Linked DNA regions of Homo sapiens: all the other regions are linked to region 1. Evidence: promoter capture Hi-C in 16 types of primary human blood cells and fetal thymus (Javierre and others, 2016). All regions are on one chromosome and are shown on one strand. The core of a region is centred on a gene start or on the middle of the fragment in contact, and the rest is flanking DNA. Distances in the headings are between cores, read along the strand shown.

Region 1 (4,314 bases), core at 1,811-4,310:
ATTATAGCCTTATGATTCTAGACTACAAACTTTTATAGCATATTACTGTACTGAATAATGTAGGTAACTATAACACAATGTTGTGTTTGTGTTTCTAAACAGAAAGGGTAGTATGTTGCACTACGATGTTACAACATCACTAAGCAACAGGAATTATCCATTATAATCTTAAGGGACCACAGTCACATAATGTAATCAGACATTGAAATATTATGTGGTGCACGAGTGTATTCAAAAAGTGCTGCCAGGCCACTGCCCTCCAGCCTGAGACAGAGTGAGACTCCTTCTCTGAAAAAATAAAAGTGCTGCTAGTCAATCCAATGTAAAAATATAAACTTCCTGTCATTATCAATTCATTTCCTTGAACCTAAAAATAATCTCTCAACAAAATGAGTCTTCCTTACTTCTGCGGTAAAGTCCTTTCTTTTTTTCTTGTCCTTTGTTCCAAGGAGAAAGGATTCACTCGGGTCCCTGTGAGAAGAGCTTCTTTAGCACTCTAAAATTAGAAAAGTATACCCAGGAGAGAGCAGGTTCCTTCCAGTTCCCTAGGAGAGTAGAGCACCAAATATTTCTCCTAGGTCTTGCTTTGTGGCTGTATGTGTGTCCTTGCTGGTACTGATGATGCCTTCCATATAAGGACTCAGACTCCACTAGCTGCCAGATTTCTGCTTGAAACACTGCCCGCTAGCGTTGAAGCTTTCAAACGATTTTAATCCATGGTGATGAAGCAAGAACAGTGTTTTCTGTACACTGCATCTACCCTATACTCTCTGTTTCTACCCCTCACATCTCCAAATTAGGGGGCTTCACTGGCTTTGTGCCTTGGTTTTTTCCACTCACCTGTGTGATCTCAGGAGGCAGAGTTTCAAGTTAGTCATCAGTGATTTCCTCAAGTCCATTTGTCTTATATTTAGCAGCAATTCCTTAGTGCTTCTGGCACGCAATAAGACTAAAACTGAGAGATCTCCACCTTTATAAGCATTTTTCATTTTAATCAATGGTCTTAATGGGAGTAGTTAGATCTGCACATTCTTCTAACCACCCAGGAGTCCTTATCCAACAACAGTGCACTTGTGTATGTTTTCATCCATGTGACGTAAGTGTATCAGCTAGTTGTTAAAGTGCAAAGACTAACAGTCTGTCTTAACACATATTTCCATACCAAAAAATCACTTTATTTCACAACGTGACAAAGTCCACATTAGGATTTGTTGGCAAATTAAAATTCTTTACTCACAAAATGATAAAAGGAAGGAGACACAGCTCAAAGTTAATGTGTAAGAGTTAACAGAATCAATACAAGTGAATAGCTGTGGAGCCCAGGGGATGCAGGAATCAAGGCAGACAAAGATATCTGTTGAATTAAATTAATGTTAGGTCACTACCCATGGTTGACATCACAGAAGTGGATAAGCATACCAGAGTAAACAAAGGAATCCTTTCTTAAACAAAAAACCCATACAACTTATTTTACTCCCTTATCGAGAAATATTTTCAAAATATAAGCCCATTCCTGGTAGGTTAAGACCAATTCAGATGACTGCATTGCCATTCCAGGGCCAAGAAAGCAACTTTAAAAACATGACCTACGCTATGGTCTAAATGTGTCCCTCAAAATGCACATTTTGAAATCCTAACTCCCGAACTGACGGTTTTAGCAAGTGGCATCTTGGGAAGTGAGGAATGGGATTAAGGTCCTTATAAAATAGGCCCAAGCGAGGGCCTCTGCCTCTCCACCATGCGAGGACAGAGCCAGAAGGTGCTATCCACTAAAGAGAAAGCACCCCTCCCTAGACACACCTTATTCTGTGACATTCCAGCCTTCAGAAATGTGAAGAATAAACTTCTGTGGTTCATAAACTACCCAGTCTAGGATATTTTGTTATGGAAGCCCAAAAGGATCAAGCCATTCCAAAATAGCATTGTTGCCCACACCATCTTTTTGAACCTCACTTAGGGTAACACCATACCCATTCGGAGTTAAGCCCTTCCTAACTCTTAAGTATCAACGTGCTTGGAAACGTGAGCAATCCTGACACGTTTTTTCTTCCTAAAGAACAATACATACTAATAATAGGATCGGCTAATAATACTAGATTCTATGCATGAAGCCTAGTATTTAAAAGCATGCAATCTGGAGCTAGACCGCCTGGGAACAAATCCCAGCTTACTAGACAAGCTGTTTAACCTTTTACTTGGTCTCATTTAACTCATTTGTAAAACGAGGGCAATTTCTGATTTCATAGGGTTGCTACGTGGATTTTAAAAAGCCCCTTGCAATATAGCCTAATATTCAGAACTCAATAACATGAACTGTCTTAAAAGGTTTCCAGAAAAAATCCCCAACAGGTTAGGTCGGCTTATCATTACAACGCTTTCCGGTATAAGGGAGATGAATAGCTATTTAGCACCACACAATTTCTCCTCTGGGCTCGGAACAGCTCTCGGTAGACTACGATCCCTTTCCGACGTGGAAACTTCAGATAAAAACGCTCCCCGAGGTCCGAGGCCAGTACGGGGCGGAGCCAGGACGCGGGCCAGAGTCCCCCGAAGGACGGTGCCTCTCTGGCCCCAAGAAGTACAGCTTTTATTTTGCAGCAATCTGAGCCAACCCGAGAAGATTCTGAAGCTTCCAAAACAGAACCGACGAGAACACTCATAGAATGCCTCTCCACTTCCTAACTGTCGCTTTGAGGAGAGAAAAGTAAGCCACAGCCAGCACCGCAGACTGGAGAAGGCGGAGTCTGCAGTGTGCCTAACGCGAACTAGAGGGACCGAGGCGGGGCGGGGCTGGCGAAGCGCGAGGACCCGGGGCCGAGGTGTGGGGCTGACCATAGAGTGCCGGACGCCGGTGTGAACATACACTATCTGCTCCTGTAGTGCCCAGGCCCCTGCCGGGGAGTCCCCGGAGCTACCATTATCGAGACTCTCATTCTATTGCCCTGCGGCTTTAATCCTTCGAGTGTAGGGGAAAAATTGAACCCTAAAGACAGGCAGCTCCTAGGCACCAGCACAGGAAATAAGCAATGGAGGTGGGGTCCTTTGCTCGCGCCGAAATTCAAAGGAATAAATAGTTCCGGCGCGGGTGTTGAGAGCGGTGTGGCAGGTGTTGTAGCCGCTATGGTGAAGTTCGCTTTGTAGCGGCCCCGGCTAGAGAGTTGTTCTGTTCCCTGCCTTTGTGACCCGGAGGAGCTTTTGGGGTGCGTCAAGCCCCTGGCCTGAGGCAGCGGTGAGGCGTGTGCGTGAGCACGGCCGGTTGGGCCGGGCCAGACTTCCTGGCGGGAGGCGGGAGGCGGGAGGCGGGGCGCGGGGCGCGGGGGCTGTAGGGAGGGGGACCAGTGGCAGAGGGACCTTAGGTGATCCTTAGAAATAAAGGCTAGCTTCTGTTCGACCTTGGAGTAGGGCGAAGAGGTGTAGACAGGCCTGGAGAAGCGAGGTAAAAGCCTGAGTAAAAGCAAGAAGTTGGAGAATATGAGATACATCTCATCTCTAGTAAATACTTAAATGACTTCCCCTCCTCCCGGAGTCAAGCACAATTCGGGGATGCAATGACGGACGTAGGTGAAGACACTGCGGGAACTTACAGACAAGTAATGACCGTCTAATATCAGCTTTAAGTACCATGAAGGAAAAAGAAAGCCGAGTGAAGGATTGTGGAGAGGTGACATAGGGAGGTCAGGGAGGACTCCAGTAAGGTGACATTTGAGCAAAGACGTGAGTGCAGTAGAGAGTAAGCTATGTCAGTATCAGAGAAAAGCACATTATAGGCAAAGATAATGGGATATGTAATAATCCATAGTCTTTGTTTAGGTAGAGTATGATAAAAGTAGAAGGCAAGCCTGGAAAAACGGGTAGAAGAAATAGTTAAGACTTCCCAGTTGAATGGTTTAATTTCCAGATAGTGGCTAACTCTGGTATATTTTTGAGTAGATGAACGATGTCTTTACATCAGACAAGATAGTTTGTCAAGTGGCTGTTTTATTTCTATCACCCTATCGTTGCTGTTTTTGCCTCGTGTTCATTATGATTCCAGGTTTACATTCCACTTAGGTGGTGGTATTTCTGTTTCGTACAGAACTGGTTTGTGGCCTGTTTGATTCCTGTCAGAGGTTTGCTGACCCAAGACAGTATCGAAAATGCATATTAAGTCAATTATTCTAGAGGGATTCAAGTCCTATGCTCAGAGGACCGAAGTCAATGGTTTTGACCCCCTCTTCAATGCTATCACTGGCTTAAATGGTAGTGGGAAATCCAACATATTGGACTCCATCTGCTTTTTGCTGGGCATCTCCAACCTGTCTCAGGTAAAGTGTA
Region 2 (4,415 bases), core at 728-3,227, 640 kb after region 1:
ACAGACAACCCACAGAATGGGAGAAAATATTCATGAACTATGCATCCAACAAAGGACTATCCAGAATCTACAAAGAACTCAAACAAATCAGCAAGAAAAACAAACAATTCCATCAAAAAGTGGGCAAAGGACATGAATAGACAATTCTCAAAAGAAGAAACACAAATGGCCAACAAGCAATAGTTAAAACATGGAAGCAACTCAGTGTCCATTGATGAATGAATGGATATGCAAAATGTGGTATATACATAAATAAAATATTATTCAGCCTTAAAAAGGAAGCAAATTCTAACACATGCTATAACATGGTAAAGCACTGAGGACATCATATTGAATAAGCCAGTCACAAAAAGATAAATACTGTATGATTCCACTAATATGAGGTAGTTAGAGTCATCAAAATCATAGATACAGAAAGTAGAAGGGTAGTTGCCAGTGGCTGGGGGAAGGGGAGAATGGGGAATTATTATTTAATGGGCACGGAGTTTCAGTTTTACAAGATGAAAAGAGTTATGAAGGCTGGATGTGGTGGCTCACACCTATAATCCCAGCACTTTGGGAGGCCAAGGCAGGTGGATCACCTGAGGTCAGGAGTTTAAGACCAGCCTGGCCAAGATGGTGAAACCCCGTCTCTGTAAAAATACAAAAATTAGCCGGGCATGATGACGGGTGCCTGTAATCCCAGCTACTCAGAAGGCTGAAGCAAGAGAGTAGCTTGAACTCAGGAAGTAGAGGTAGCAGTGAGCCAAGATGGTGCCACTGCACTCCAGCCTGGGTGACAGCTCAAAAAAAAAAAAAAAAAGAAAGAAAAGAGTTCTGGAGATGGATGGTGGTGATGCTTGCACAACATTATGAATATATTTAATACCACTGAACTGTACACTTAAAAATGGTTAAGATGGTAAATTGTATGTTATCTGTATTTTACCATAATAAAATATATTTTATATATATATATATATATATTTTTTTATTTACCAGGCCCAAATAATTTCCCTGGATAATTCTAACACATTTTCCAAGAACAGGTAACCCCTGATATATAAATTGGTTCATAAAATATTTAAAAAGGGAATGGGAAGCTCCCCCAACTCTTTTTGTAAGCCTGTATGTACAGCCCTGAAACAAAAACTGAACAGGGAAAATATGAGAAAGGAAAACTTAAGAGCCAATCTCACTTATAAACATAGACAGGAAAATATAAAATACTAGCAAACAGAATCTAGCAATGTAGAAAATAATAATACCTAACTTTCGGGTAAGGTTTATTCAAACGATGCAAGGAAGTCATAACATTGAAAATATTTTAATGTAATTCACTATAATTTCAATTAACAGATTTTAAAAATTATCATTTCATTAAATGCAAAAGATCTTTTGATAAAATTTAATAGGCACTCATAATTTAAAATAAATAACTTAGCAAACTACAAACAAGCAAACTTTTAAAACTGATATAAGGGGTATTTATCAAAACTTACAATTGACAAATCCCCTTTAAGTTTACAAACAAGATAAGAATGCTGGCTTTCACTTTTTTATCCCCCGCAGAGAAACGGTCTTGCTCTGTCACCAAGGCTGGACTACAGTGGAGTGATCCTGCCTCATTGTAACCTTGACCTCCTGGGCTCAAGTGATCCTCCCACCTTAGTCTCTTGAGTAGCTATGAAGTACATGCTAATTTTTTGTTTGTTTGTTTGTTTGTTTTTGAGACAGGGTTCTCTCTGTGTTGCCCAGGCTGGTCTTCAACTCCTGGCCTCAAGTGGTCGTCCCCCTCTGGCCTCTCAAAGGGCTGGAATTAGAAGTCTGAGCCACTGTGCCAGGCCTGTTTTCACCTCTTATAGTCAACATTGCACAGAGGTCCTATGTACGACAATAAAGAGAGAAGGGGGCAGTGGGAGAAATAAAAATCGGGAAGGGAAAGAGGAAAGAGGGGAGAAAGAAAAAGAGAAAAATGGGAAGAAAGGAAGGAAAGAAGGAAGGGCAGGAGGGATAAAGGAAGGAAAAGGAGTCGTAAAGATTGAAAAGGGAGAAACAAAATTGTCATTATTGCCTAAAAATAAGATTATCTCTGTAGGAAGTCAGAAAAAAATCCATTAGAAAATCTTAAAATGTAAACTACTAAAAGGCTTTAGCAAGGCTGCCAACCACAAGATCAACTCAATAGTATTTTCTGCAGGAAACACAACTGGTTAGAGAATATACTTTGAAGTGCATCTCATGACATCACAAAAACTATAAAATGCCAATGAATAAAAACTGCATAAGGAATTTTTGAGGAAAAATATAAATCGTCATTAAAGCACACAGAAAAACCTCCCAAAAACTGGGGACACAAATTTTGTTCATGTTAGGAAATTCAAGAATAAATATATGAATTTATTCAGAATTTCTCTGTAAATCTAATATAATTTCCATCAAAATGATACTGAGATTTTTTTTAGTTTCTCAAACTTATCCAAAAATTCATACTGAATAGCAAAGACAAAGAATAGCCAAGACAATGTTATAATAAGAAATGTATATTTACTATACAAAATGTCAAGATGGATAATAAAGCTACAGTAATTCAAATTGCTTAGTACTGATACAGGTAAAGACAAATTAATCAATGGAACAGATTAGAAGGATCCAGAAATAGCCTAGGCATCTGTGGAAGTTTATATCCCAAGTGAATGGTCTTTGATTTATAATGGCATTACAAATCGGTAGGGAACAAATGAACTATTTAATAAACTGTTCTTTGGTAATGGACTACTAATATTGAAAAAAAGATCAAATTAAATCTACACCTCATACTGTGACTAAAATAAACTTGAGAGAGATTAAATACCTAAAGGGCAAAAGCAAAACTGTAAAAATATCTACAGGAAAATATACAAGAATATCATCATGCACAAGGAAAAAGAAAGTATACCTTAAATAGGGGGAAAAGCACAAAAACATGAGACCAATAATTTAAATTTAGAAACACCTATATGGCAAAATACTCTTAGAAAGTTTAAATAATAGCTACAAATGGGAGAACATATCAGTAAAACATACATCCAAAAAAAAGATTAGTCTGGAAGTTTTTGTTTTGTTTGTTTTGAGATGGAGTCTTGCTCTGTCGCCCAGGCTGGAGTGCAGTGGCACAATCTCTGCTCACTGCAACCTCTGCCGCCCAGGGTTCAAGCGATTCTCCTGCCTCAGCCTCCCAAGTAGCTGGGATTACAGGCATGTGCCACCATGCCCAGCTAATTTTTTTGTATTTTTAGTAGAGACAGGGTTTCAGCATCTTGGCCAGGCTGGTCTTGACCTCCTGACCTCATGATCCACCTGTCTCGGCCTCCCATCACTTTTGGGTGATGGGATTACAGGCATGAGCCACCACGCCCGGCCGGAATATATATATATATTTTTTAAAGCATTCAAACCAAGCCAGGCATGGTTGTGCACCTCTAATCCCAGCCACACCTTGCGAGGCTGAGGGGACAGGATTGCAACATTCAAATCAATATGAAAAAGATGAACAACAAAATAAAAAATTGGGCCAAGAATATAAACAGGGACCTCAACAAAAGAAAAACAACATGGCCTATAAAATTATGAAAAGATTCTCAATTCACAAGAAATCAGAGCAATATAAATGAAATCAATGAAACATTTTTCATCCATAAGATATGCAAATATTAAAGTCTTACAAGAATTGCAAGAATGTGCAGGAAGAGGAAATACGATTCACTGCCTGGGAGCATAAATGGCTATGGTGAACCAAAAATTGTAAAGTTGACTCATTAATTCCACTTACAGGGATGTGCCTAAGGACATATCTACAAAATTACTCATTGAAGCATTATTTATAAACCTGGGAATATTTAAGTATCAAAAGAGAAAGAGGAACAAAGTTACAATATGCTCAAATATTGGATTGTAAGAGAGCAATTAAAATGAGCCAACCAGCTCTAAATGGCTTATTTTGTTACCTTTGGCAAACCACCTAACTTCTTTAAGCTTCCTCTTTGCTGTGTGTTTTAGTCTAAAATGTAAATATCAGCTTTACAGAGTGAAATGAAAGTAAGAAAGGACTTAAGTAAAAGGTATACTACATAACAGCATGTAAGAAATATCAGAAATAATAAAATCTGATGACCCCTTGTCGGTAAATAGGCATCACTGACATTCTCTGAGAAAAAAAGGGATGAGAACCGAACAAGTGATCTGAGATTAAGTAAATATTTCTTAAAACCTTTAAAAAATGAAAGGGCAGCCAAGTAGGTATGAGAACTAACCAAAGAGGGTTCAGTTCTCAATAAACAGGTAATTATAAAGGAGACTTTAGTAATATAAATTAACAAATATGCTTCATTCCAAAAACAAAGAAGAGAAAACAAACAAAAAACAACAAAGAGGCAAAGGACCAAATGTTTTTGTTT
Region 3 (4,464 bases), core at 666-3,165, 880 kb after region 1:
CAATGTTACTCAGGCTGATTTCAAACTTCTGGGCTCAAGTGATCCTCCTGCTTCAACGTCCCAAAGTTCTGGAATTACAGACACGAGCCACCCTACCTGGCCTGCCTGCCTTGCTTGAGAAGCTGCAGCACTATTTTGTTCACCATTGTATTAGCAGTGCTAACATATAGTGGCCTTTTCATACATGTCAAATAGACATATAAATGATGAATGCATGAGTCCAGTGTCTGACCTTCATGTCTGTGCCCAGAGTCTGTTGGGAGAGGTGGAGATGAAAATAGAGGTAGGCTGGGCACAGTGGCTCACACTTGTAATCCCAGCACTTTGGGAGGCCGAGGCGGGCAGATCATGAGGTCAAGAGATGGAGACCATCCTGGCCAACATGGTGAAACCCTGTCTCTACTAAAAATACAAAATTAGCTGGGCATGGTGGCACATGCCTGTAGTCCCAGCTACTCGGCAGGCTGAGGCAGGAGAATCGCTTGAACTTGGGAGGTGGAGGTTGCAGTGAGCCGAGATCGCTCCACTACAACCTGGTGACAGAGTGAGACTCCGTACCCCCCGCCACCAAAAAAAAAAAAAAAAGAAGAAGAAAATAGAGGTACATGTTTATACAAAGTTTGGAACAGGAAGGCAGATGCACATAACTGCCTGGCGTGGTTCCAAAAACCTGAATGGAGAAGGCAGTATCTGCTAATGGGGGCTCTCTGCTAAGCTTTGGAATTGTCCATTATTGTATTAGCATATAAGAAGTTATCACACCAAAGGCTCCCCATGAGCCTTGCCTGGGAAAGGGACTGATTATTTAAGAGCCAACCAGCACAGGTACGGAGATGCTACCCTCTTCTAGGTGGTCATCTGGAGAAGCTGTGCTTTCCAGGGACTCTGGATTTCTTCAAATATCCTTGGAATGCTCCTTGTGGAAATGGCTTTTGAATCTACAGCACATTCTTTTGGACCTCCTCAGCACAGGAACATCTCGTTCCTTTAGGGATTTGATAGTTGGGAAGAGCCAGAAGTCACTTGGCTGGAGGTCTAGAGTATGAGGAAGATGATCATGCTGCATAATAGCTGCTGTTGAAATTTGAAGGAAGGAGTTAGTATGCTGACATAGGGCAAGAGTTCTCATCCTGGAGTGTGTGGAAGTTTTTAAGTATATGTGTATTTTTGTCTATTTATTTTTGAGACAGGGTCTCACTCTGTCACCCAGGTTGGAGTGCAGTGGTATTATCTTGGCTCACTGCAACCTCTGCCTCCCAGGCTCAAGGGATCAATCCTCCCAGCTCAGCCTCCCAAGTAGCTGGGACCACAGGTGTGTACCACCATGTCTGGCTAAATTTTTGTATTTTTGGTAGAGACTGGTTTCACCATGTTGCCCAGGCTGGTCTTGAGCTCCTGAGCTCAAGTGATCCACCTGCCTCGGCTTCCCAAAGTGCTGGGATTACAGGCGTGAGCCCCCACACCTGGCTGTATGTGTTCTTTACTGAGGGATCCTGTTTTTAGCTTTAACAGATTTTCCCCAAGGACTCCATGATTCAAAGAAATGAACAACTACTGCTATAGATTCAGGAGATCTTAGGAATTCTTAGGAGAATCCTAAGAAATCTTAGGATTTCTTCTGTGGCTTGTAAAGTGGCTCTGAAGGAAAGTCATGTCTTAGGAAAGCAGAGGATAGGTTTCAGCTGTGCCTGCAATTGGAAATGTTGTCTCAGTGGGTTTCAAAGCTCCAGAGCCTTGGTGACCCCACATACGAAGTGAAGAGTAGAACTGGGTAGGTGGTGTCTATGGGTCTGACTGTGACCCCATGAAATTCCAACAAAGGAATTTCAGAAATGTTCTTCCAAGATAGTGGAATCCCTGGACTAGGCATGTAATGCAAACTTCCCAGGTGACTCAAATGACGGCCCCAATTTGGATGCTTGTTAGTAGTGTGTGTAAGGAGGCAGACCTGGTCTTATTTCTCAGTAAATTCCAAACCCAGAAGGAAAAACCAGGAATGGTCCTTTTTGGCATCCCCAGCCTCTAACATAGGGCAGAGGGCTTTGGTGTGCGTCAGTAGTCTGGAAGGAGGAGCTCAGCCTGGTCACTTCTGCATTGGAGCCTAGAGCCTTTTTTTTTTTTTTTTTTTTTTTGCCATACTCTTAAGCCTGTAGCAGCCACTGTTGATCTGGGGGCCTTAAAAACAAGTTTGGGCCAGGTGTGGTGGCACACCCCTGTAATCCCAGCTCTTTGGGAGGCTGAAGCAGTTGGATCACCTGAAGTCAGGAGTTCGAGACCAGAGTGGACAACATGGTGAAACCCTGTCTCTACTAAAAATACAAAAATTAGCCTGGCATGGTGGTGCATGCCTGTGATCCCATCTACTCGGGAGGCTGAGACATGAGAATCACCTGAACCCGGGAGGCAGAGATTGCAGTGAGCCGAGAACACACCACTGCACTCCAGCCTGGGCAACAGAGTAAGACTCTGTCTCAAAAACAAACAAACAAACGAAACAAGTTTGGTCTCCTAATTTCATAAAACTCTGAGTACCCAAGAGTCACCCTTGAAGAGGAGAAAGGGATGGAAGGAGGACCCCTCCCCCATGTTGTACAATGAGCAGAGTCAGGGCAGAAACACAGAGTTCACTGAGATTAGAGACATGTGAAGAGCCGCCTTCACAGGCTCTCACCTCTCCCTGATTGTATGTACGTGGGCTTTTTGCTTCTTTGCTTTTTGCTCAAGCTGTTGACTCTGAAATTTCTTCTCTCCATTATTTTCACCTGCAAAATCCATTCTGAGGAATGCTGTTTCTTCTTAACAAGTTCCTGCACATTACTTAAAACTCTCAGATATGTACTCCACCAGGAACCTTTCCCTGAGATTCCATCCACACCCTGCACTCAGTTGTTTACCTGCTCCTCTGAGTGGTCATTATACCTTGACATTCCATTCTTTCAGCTGAAGGGCTCTAAAACCTCGCACCATTTGGCCACCCTCTGTCTCTGGTACATCTCTACTCTTCTTATTCCAGCCATATTGGTACAACCTGCCTCAGATACTCTTCCTCCTGCCTCTCTATAATTACCTGAAAAGCTCCTTCGTCCTGTAATACTCCCTCTGTTGTGTTCTCTACAGAAGCTTTCTCTGACCCCAGAAAGAGTTTATTGCCCTTCACCCTCTATCTTGAGACTTTGCAATTTTTTTTAACATACCTATCACAGCACTGAACACACTACTTTACATAGAAATGTTCTGTTTATACACCTATCATCTGAGCTAGACTGTGGGTTCCTTTACCACAGAGACCTTTCTTCTCACCACTCTTGAGCTTGGGACTTAATAGATACTCATTAAATGTTGAATAAATGAATTAATGAATATTATTGTTTGTCTACATGTGTGTTCCTCCTACTTTTTTATGAAGTCTTTGAGGCTAGGAATAATGGCTTACTTATATCTTATTCCTGATAGCTAACTTAGTGCCTGGTATATAGTAGGCACCCAATAAATATTTTCATTGGATATACATGGATGAATGAATAAAGTCTTTTGTTAGTATCTCCAACCTGATATATCCTTTCCCTCCTTTGAAACCTCAAGCGCCTGGTGTTTCTCCTGTGGTACTTTCTTTAGCTTGGACTTCTCTCATTGTCTAATCCCCGCCAGTTGATGGTCAGCTCTTTGAGGCGGGAGCTGGGCCTTACTTCCCTTGGTGTCCCCTGAGAGTCTGTCACAGCGTGGGGCATATAGCGGGTGCTCCAAGTTGAACTGTTCTGAGAAAAATGAAAGTATCTGTGATTCAGAGCCACCATTCCAGCAATGAGAGTCCCAACAGCTATACATATTGAATCTCTTAATAACACCACTTTGCTTCATGCACAATTAATGTTGCCAAACTCTGGGTGATACAGGCAGGCAAAGTTGAAAAGACCACATCATTATTATTATTATTATTTGAGACAGAGTTTCACTCTTGTTGCTGAGGCTGGAGTGCAATGGCACAATTTCAGCTGCAACTTCTGCCTCCCATGTTCAAGTGATTCTTCTGCCTCAGCCTCCCGAGTAGCTGGGACCAAAGGCACATGCCACCACACCCAGCTAATTTTTTGTAGTTTTAGTAGAGACAAGGTTTCACCATGTTGGCCAGGCTGGTCTTGAACACCTAACCTCGGGTGATCCACCCACCTTGGCCTCCCAAAGTGCTAAGATTACAGACATGAACCACCGTGCCCAGCCATGAAAAGACCACATTATTTCATATTTGTTTTAGCTGTAATGCTCTGTACTCGTTGGTGCTCAGTCAATATAATTTTCAAATAAATAAGGACATGAGGCCATCTAAGTATGGATGAGCCCCAGAGTCCAAAAGCATAGCAGAAAGATGAAAATCACATCAGCCCCTGAGGAGAAATGAGAAAGTAGCCCCGTGCATTCCCCTTCAGGGTAGTGGCTTTAAAAGAATTGAAAAACTTGTTTTTCTCC
Region 4 (4,103 bases), core at 1,212-3,711, 770 kb after region 1:
AACTGGTAGCCTTGCAAAAATACCTGGAAGCATTTCATGCAAAGAGAGACAAGCACAAGAGGATTATGAAGATTGGAAGCTGGGTCCTTGAAGTCTTTTGGAGAACTTCATATCAATACAGCTTTGAAGATCTTAAAACAGGTTCCATTGCAACAGTCCAATGCATCAGGTCTCTTTACTGAAACTCAGAATGTATCAAAGCACAAGGCACAATGACAGGACACTTAAAACCTGCAAGTTGCATTAACTCAGTATCTCCCACACTCTTGTCCCTCTTGCAAAGAAAAATCCAGAGTCCAACTCGTTTTCTTAAGAGTGGGACACATGATTTGGCAAACAGGAATCCAGAGTCTGAATTCCTGGAACCACTTTTATTAGATGAACAACATCCTCACTATTTTGCAATTTATGTTGTCTTTAAGTAGGACTGGGCTGAAATATGGGGAGAAAGCATTTATGCTATTTATCTGTAAGTGTAGATATTTAACTAAGACACAGAACTATGTTCTAACAATTTCAGAATTTGGAATTCTCCATTTTACTTGCCCTAGAGCAGAGTGCCAGAAAGCCAGGCCTCTTATCTCATTGATAGGCCAATTCTAAATCATTCTTATCTTTTCTTTATACCAAACCCACTAGAGAGCCTCTTCTTGGTCATATTTTACTTAATTGCCTTTCTGGACCTAAACTATTCTACTTCATACGTGGTCCAGTGGACCACAAGCTTTGAAAGAAGAGCCTGTTTATCCTGCTCACTTTGCATCCACAGTGCTGAAACATTATAGCCAGTATTTGTTGAAGGAATGAACAATGCAGACTCTTTATTACACCATTACTAACTGCCCTGTTTAAATTGGGGCAGGCTGATGTGCTTGTAGAACAACCTAAGGTGAGTGATGGACCAAAAGCCTCTCAAAACCCATGCAGCTTTTGAAATACTGCAGAACATTTGGCCTACCATGATTCCCATTAAGTTTTTGCTGACTGCCAGAGATACTCAAGCACACTTCAGTTCTACTCATTTCTTTAACTGGTCCTTGCTGCTAGGCTGTCAGCCTACAGTTAGTGTCTATGTTTAAGAATACTGACAACAGGCCGGGTGCAGTGGGTCATGTCTGTAATTCCAACACTTTGGGAGGCCAAGGCAGACGGATCACCTGAGGTCAGGAGTTCAAGACCAGTCTGGCCAACCAACATGGTGAAACCCCGTCTCTACTAAAAATACAACAATTAGCCAGGTGTGGTGGTGCATGCCTGTAATCCCAGCTACTCAGGAGGCTGAAGCAGAGAATCACTTGAACCTGGGAGGCAGAGGTTGTAGTGAGCTGAGATCACGCCACTGCACTCCAGCCTGGGTGACAGAGCGAGACTCCAACTCAAAAAAAAAAAAAAAAAAAGAATACTGACAACGGAGGGCCTTTGTTGATGTCATCTTCTGCCTCTGCCCAATCATGCTTTGTTCCCTTTCCTTTCCTTACACAAGTATTGATCCCAAGAATTTTTCAATAAATGTCTTGTATGCTCAAAAAAAAGAATACTGAAAATACAGAAACTCCAAGGACCATCCAAGGACCATCTCCATGCTTAGGATGCCCCTTATTTTAAACTGATTAGATGTGACAGATATGAAATTGGCAGGGGGCAATGGAAATTATGCTAAATGCAACTACTTTCAAAAGCCTGATGCCTTTGGCCCATCTCCTAACCACACAATTGGTAAACACAAGGCATATTTTCCTAGTTTCAGAAGGGCACGCAGTAAGCACATTTTTCTAATTTTAAAAATTCTAGATCATGTGAAGCAAAAAGCTTATTTTCAAGAATAAACATTTCCACTACTTCTGCTTCTTGTAAAGACAAGCTAGTATGCAGACACGAGATAGGGGAGGAAGCAGTTCCCCTTTCTGCCAGAGAATAAGCTCAAAAAGTGTCTCTGAAAAATCAATAACCATGCAAGCTGGGTCTGGTGCTACCCACTGCACAAGAGCTGTCTAATAATGATGCCAGAGGAAGTTTTCTATGATTCTAAAGTTAAAATTCAACATAAACACTAATATTATTTCCTGATTTTATAAAATTCTTTTTTTTTTTTTTTTTTTGAGATGGAGTCTCACTCTGTCAGCCAGGCTGGAGTGCAATGGCGTGATATTGGCTCACTGCAACCTCCGCCTCCCAGGTTCAAACGATTCTCCTGTCTCAGCCTCACGAGTAGCTGGGACTACAGGAGCATGCCACCACGCTGAGCTAATTTTCATATTTTTAGTAGAGACAGGCTTTGCCATGTTGGCCAGGATGGTCTCGAACTCCTGACCTCAAGTGATTTTCCCGCCTTGGCCTCCCAAAGTGCTGGGATTATAGACGTGGGATTACAGACCTTTGAAGTGATCTCGTCCATCCCACCTGAGCTTTGTGACACTAGTCCGTTCATTTCTGTTTCCCCAGTGCCATCTCACAGAGCTAAAATTGGAGAGATTTAAAGCCTTATTCCCACAAGCTGCAGGGACTGATCTCCTATTTAATGCAAAGCAAGCAACAGTTCTCAACTCAGTGCCACTGCGTCCAGCCCTTATTTTATAAAATTCTTAAAAGTCTCCAAATACACCCTTGTCTAAAGTCTCCTGTCCTCAATTTTTTAGACAGAGCTCCTCCAGATCAATAACCCTTAACCACGGTTATTGCCTCAGAACTGTGAATATTTTTTAAGTTTAACTCAACTTAAAATGTATCCCTTGTAGGAGGAAATCATCACAAATGCCAAGTGATAAGCCAGAAATCAATTTTATTTTAACCAGCTGGCCCATGACGCCAGGTTGCATATTCCACTCCTGGATGGTTTGGCAATTCCTGCCTGAATAGGGAAGTAAAATTAAGTGAAGTTGTATTCAAACTACCTCCCTCCCCTTCACCACCATTACAAGGACAAGGGTTTATTCATTTCTTTCCAGTAGCTGCACAACGTAATTGCCATCAGCCCTACTGAGGAAGCTGGAGGCATCAGCTTACCTTGTGGAGAATGACATCAGCCCTCAGCATCTTGTCCACAGTAGACTTTGGGAGAGAGAGGTTGTGATACAGGAACCCAGAGAAGGTTTCATTGTCCACCAGGAAATCTTGAAGCTTCAAGTCTATTGAGAAATAGTGTTTTATTTTTATTTAGTAAGTAACTCAAAAAAAAAAAAAAAGTGGGCACAATGGGACAGTGGAGAAACGTTATCATAATATTGATGATCAACAGTTGCCTGGCTAAACACACACAGGAATGAGATAGGGGAGCATCGCCATATCAGGAGAGGCATGAAAATATTGCTTTCTGGTAACATGTTGAGCCACACTCAGCATGTGCTCCTCAACTCAAACAGTGTGATGGTGCTGTTACACACACACACACACACACACACACATACACACACACACAGCCTTTCCTTTTCTTTTTTTTTTTTTATTTTGAGACGGAGTCTCACCCTGTCACCTAGGTTGGAGTGCAATGGTGGAATCTCAGCTCACTGCAACCCCCGCCTCCCGGGTTCAAGAGATTCTCCTGCCTCAGCCTCCCGAGTAGCTGGGATTACAGGTATGCATCACCATGACTGGCAAATTTTTTTTTTTTTATCTTTAGTACAGACAGGGTTTCACCATGATAGGCAGGCTGGTCTCAAACTCCTGACCTTGTGATCCAACCTGCCTTGGCCTCCCAAAGTGCTGACAGTACAGGCGTGAGCCACCATGCCCGGTCTTTCTCTTCTAAATGATCTCACCCACCCCACCTGAGCTTTGTGGCACTAGTCCGTTCATTCCTGTCTCCCCACTGCCTTTTCACAGAGCTAAAATTGGAGAGATTTAAAGCTTTATTCCCACAAGCTGCAGAGACTAATCTCCTGTTTAATGCAAAACAAGCAATGGTTCTCAAACTTAAGTATGCATCAGAATCACCTGGAGAGCTTGTTAAAATGCAGACTGCCGGGCCGGGCCGGGCCGGGCCGGGCCGGGCCGGGCCGGGCCGGGCCGGGCCGGGCCGGGCCGGGCCGGCCCCCACCCCCACCCCCACCCCCACCCCCACCCCCACCCCCACCCCCACCCCCAGAGTTTCTGATACAGCGGCCCTG

What was found. Contacts are between HindIII fragments. The CHiCAGO score rates a contact against its expected background, and 5 or more counts as called.
Region 2: a contact is called between a fragment that was not itself captured here and the fragment with the promoter of SMC2 in region 1, in 2 of 17 cell types (non-activated CD4 T cells and fetal thymus). The highest score is 8.9, in non-activated CD4 T cells.
Region 3: a contact is called between a fragment that was not itself captured here and the fragment with the promoter of SMC2 in region 1, in 1 of 17 cell types (total CD8 T cells). The highest score is 5.7, in total CD8 T cells.
Region 4: a fragment that was not itself captured here is called in contact with the fragment with the promoter of SMC2 in region 1 in 2 of 17 cell types (total B cells and naive B cells); the score reaches 11.2 in total B cells.

What each region holds. Positions count from the first base shown.
Region 1 is chr9:104,091,249-104,095,562 of GRCh38, forward strand. SMC2 (structural maintenance of chromosomes 2) reads left to right here and starts at 3,061. Exons shown (of 25, transcript NM_006444.3): 1 at 3,061-3,229; 2 at 4,076-4,304. The coding sequence starts at 4,137. It overlaps SMC2-DT (SMC2 divergent transcript), which reads right to left and starts at 1,226. Exons shown (of 3, transcript NR_121580.1): 1 at 841-1,226. RefSeq lists enhancers at 2,344-3,013, 2,476-2,795, 3,014-3,681. The HindIII fragment of the contact is 5,032 bases long and covers 2,628-4,314 here.
Region 2 is chr9:104,737,045-104,741,459 of GRCh38, forward strand. All of the region lies in intron 1 of LOC107987105 (a long non-coding RNA gene), which reads right to left. Among named protein-coding and RNA genes, the nearest start is that of NIPSNAP3A, 8.4 kb to the right of the region's middle. The HindIII fragment of the contact is 4,028 bases long and covers 1-3,991 here.
Region 3 is chr9:104,969,807-104,974,270 of GRCh38, forward strand. CT70 (cancer/testis associated transcript 70) reads right to left here. Exons shown (of 4, transcript NR_184160.1): 4 at 3,515-3,750. Among named protein-coding and RNA genes, the nearest start is that of CT70, 20 kb to the right of the region's middle. The HindIII fragment of the contact is 2,405 bases long and covers 714-3,118 here.
Region 4 is chr9:104,858,676-104,862,778 of GRCh38, forward strand. ABCA1 (ATP binding cassette subfamily A member 1) reads right to left here. Exons shown (of 50, transcript NM_005502.4): 6 at 3,004-3,125; 7 at 1-23. Among named protein-coding and RNA genes, the nearest start is that of ABCA1, 67 kb to the right of the region's middle. The HindIII fragment of the contact is 1,308 bases long and covers 1,808-3,115 here.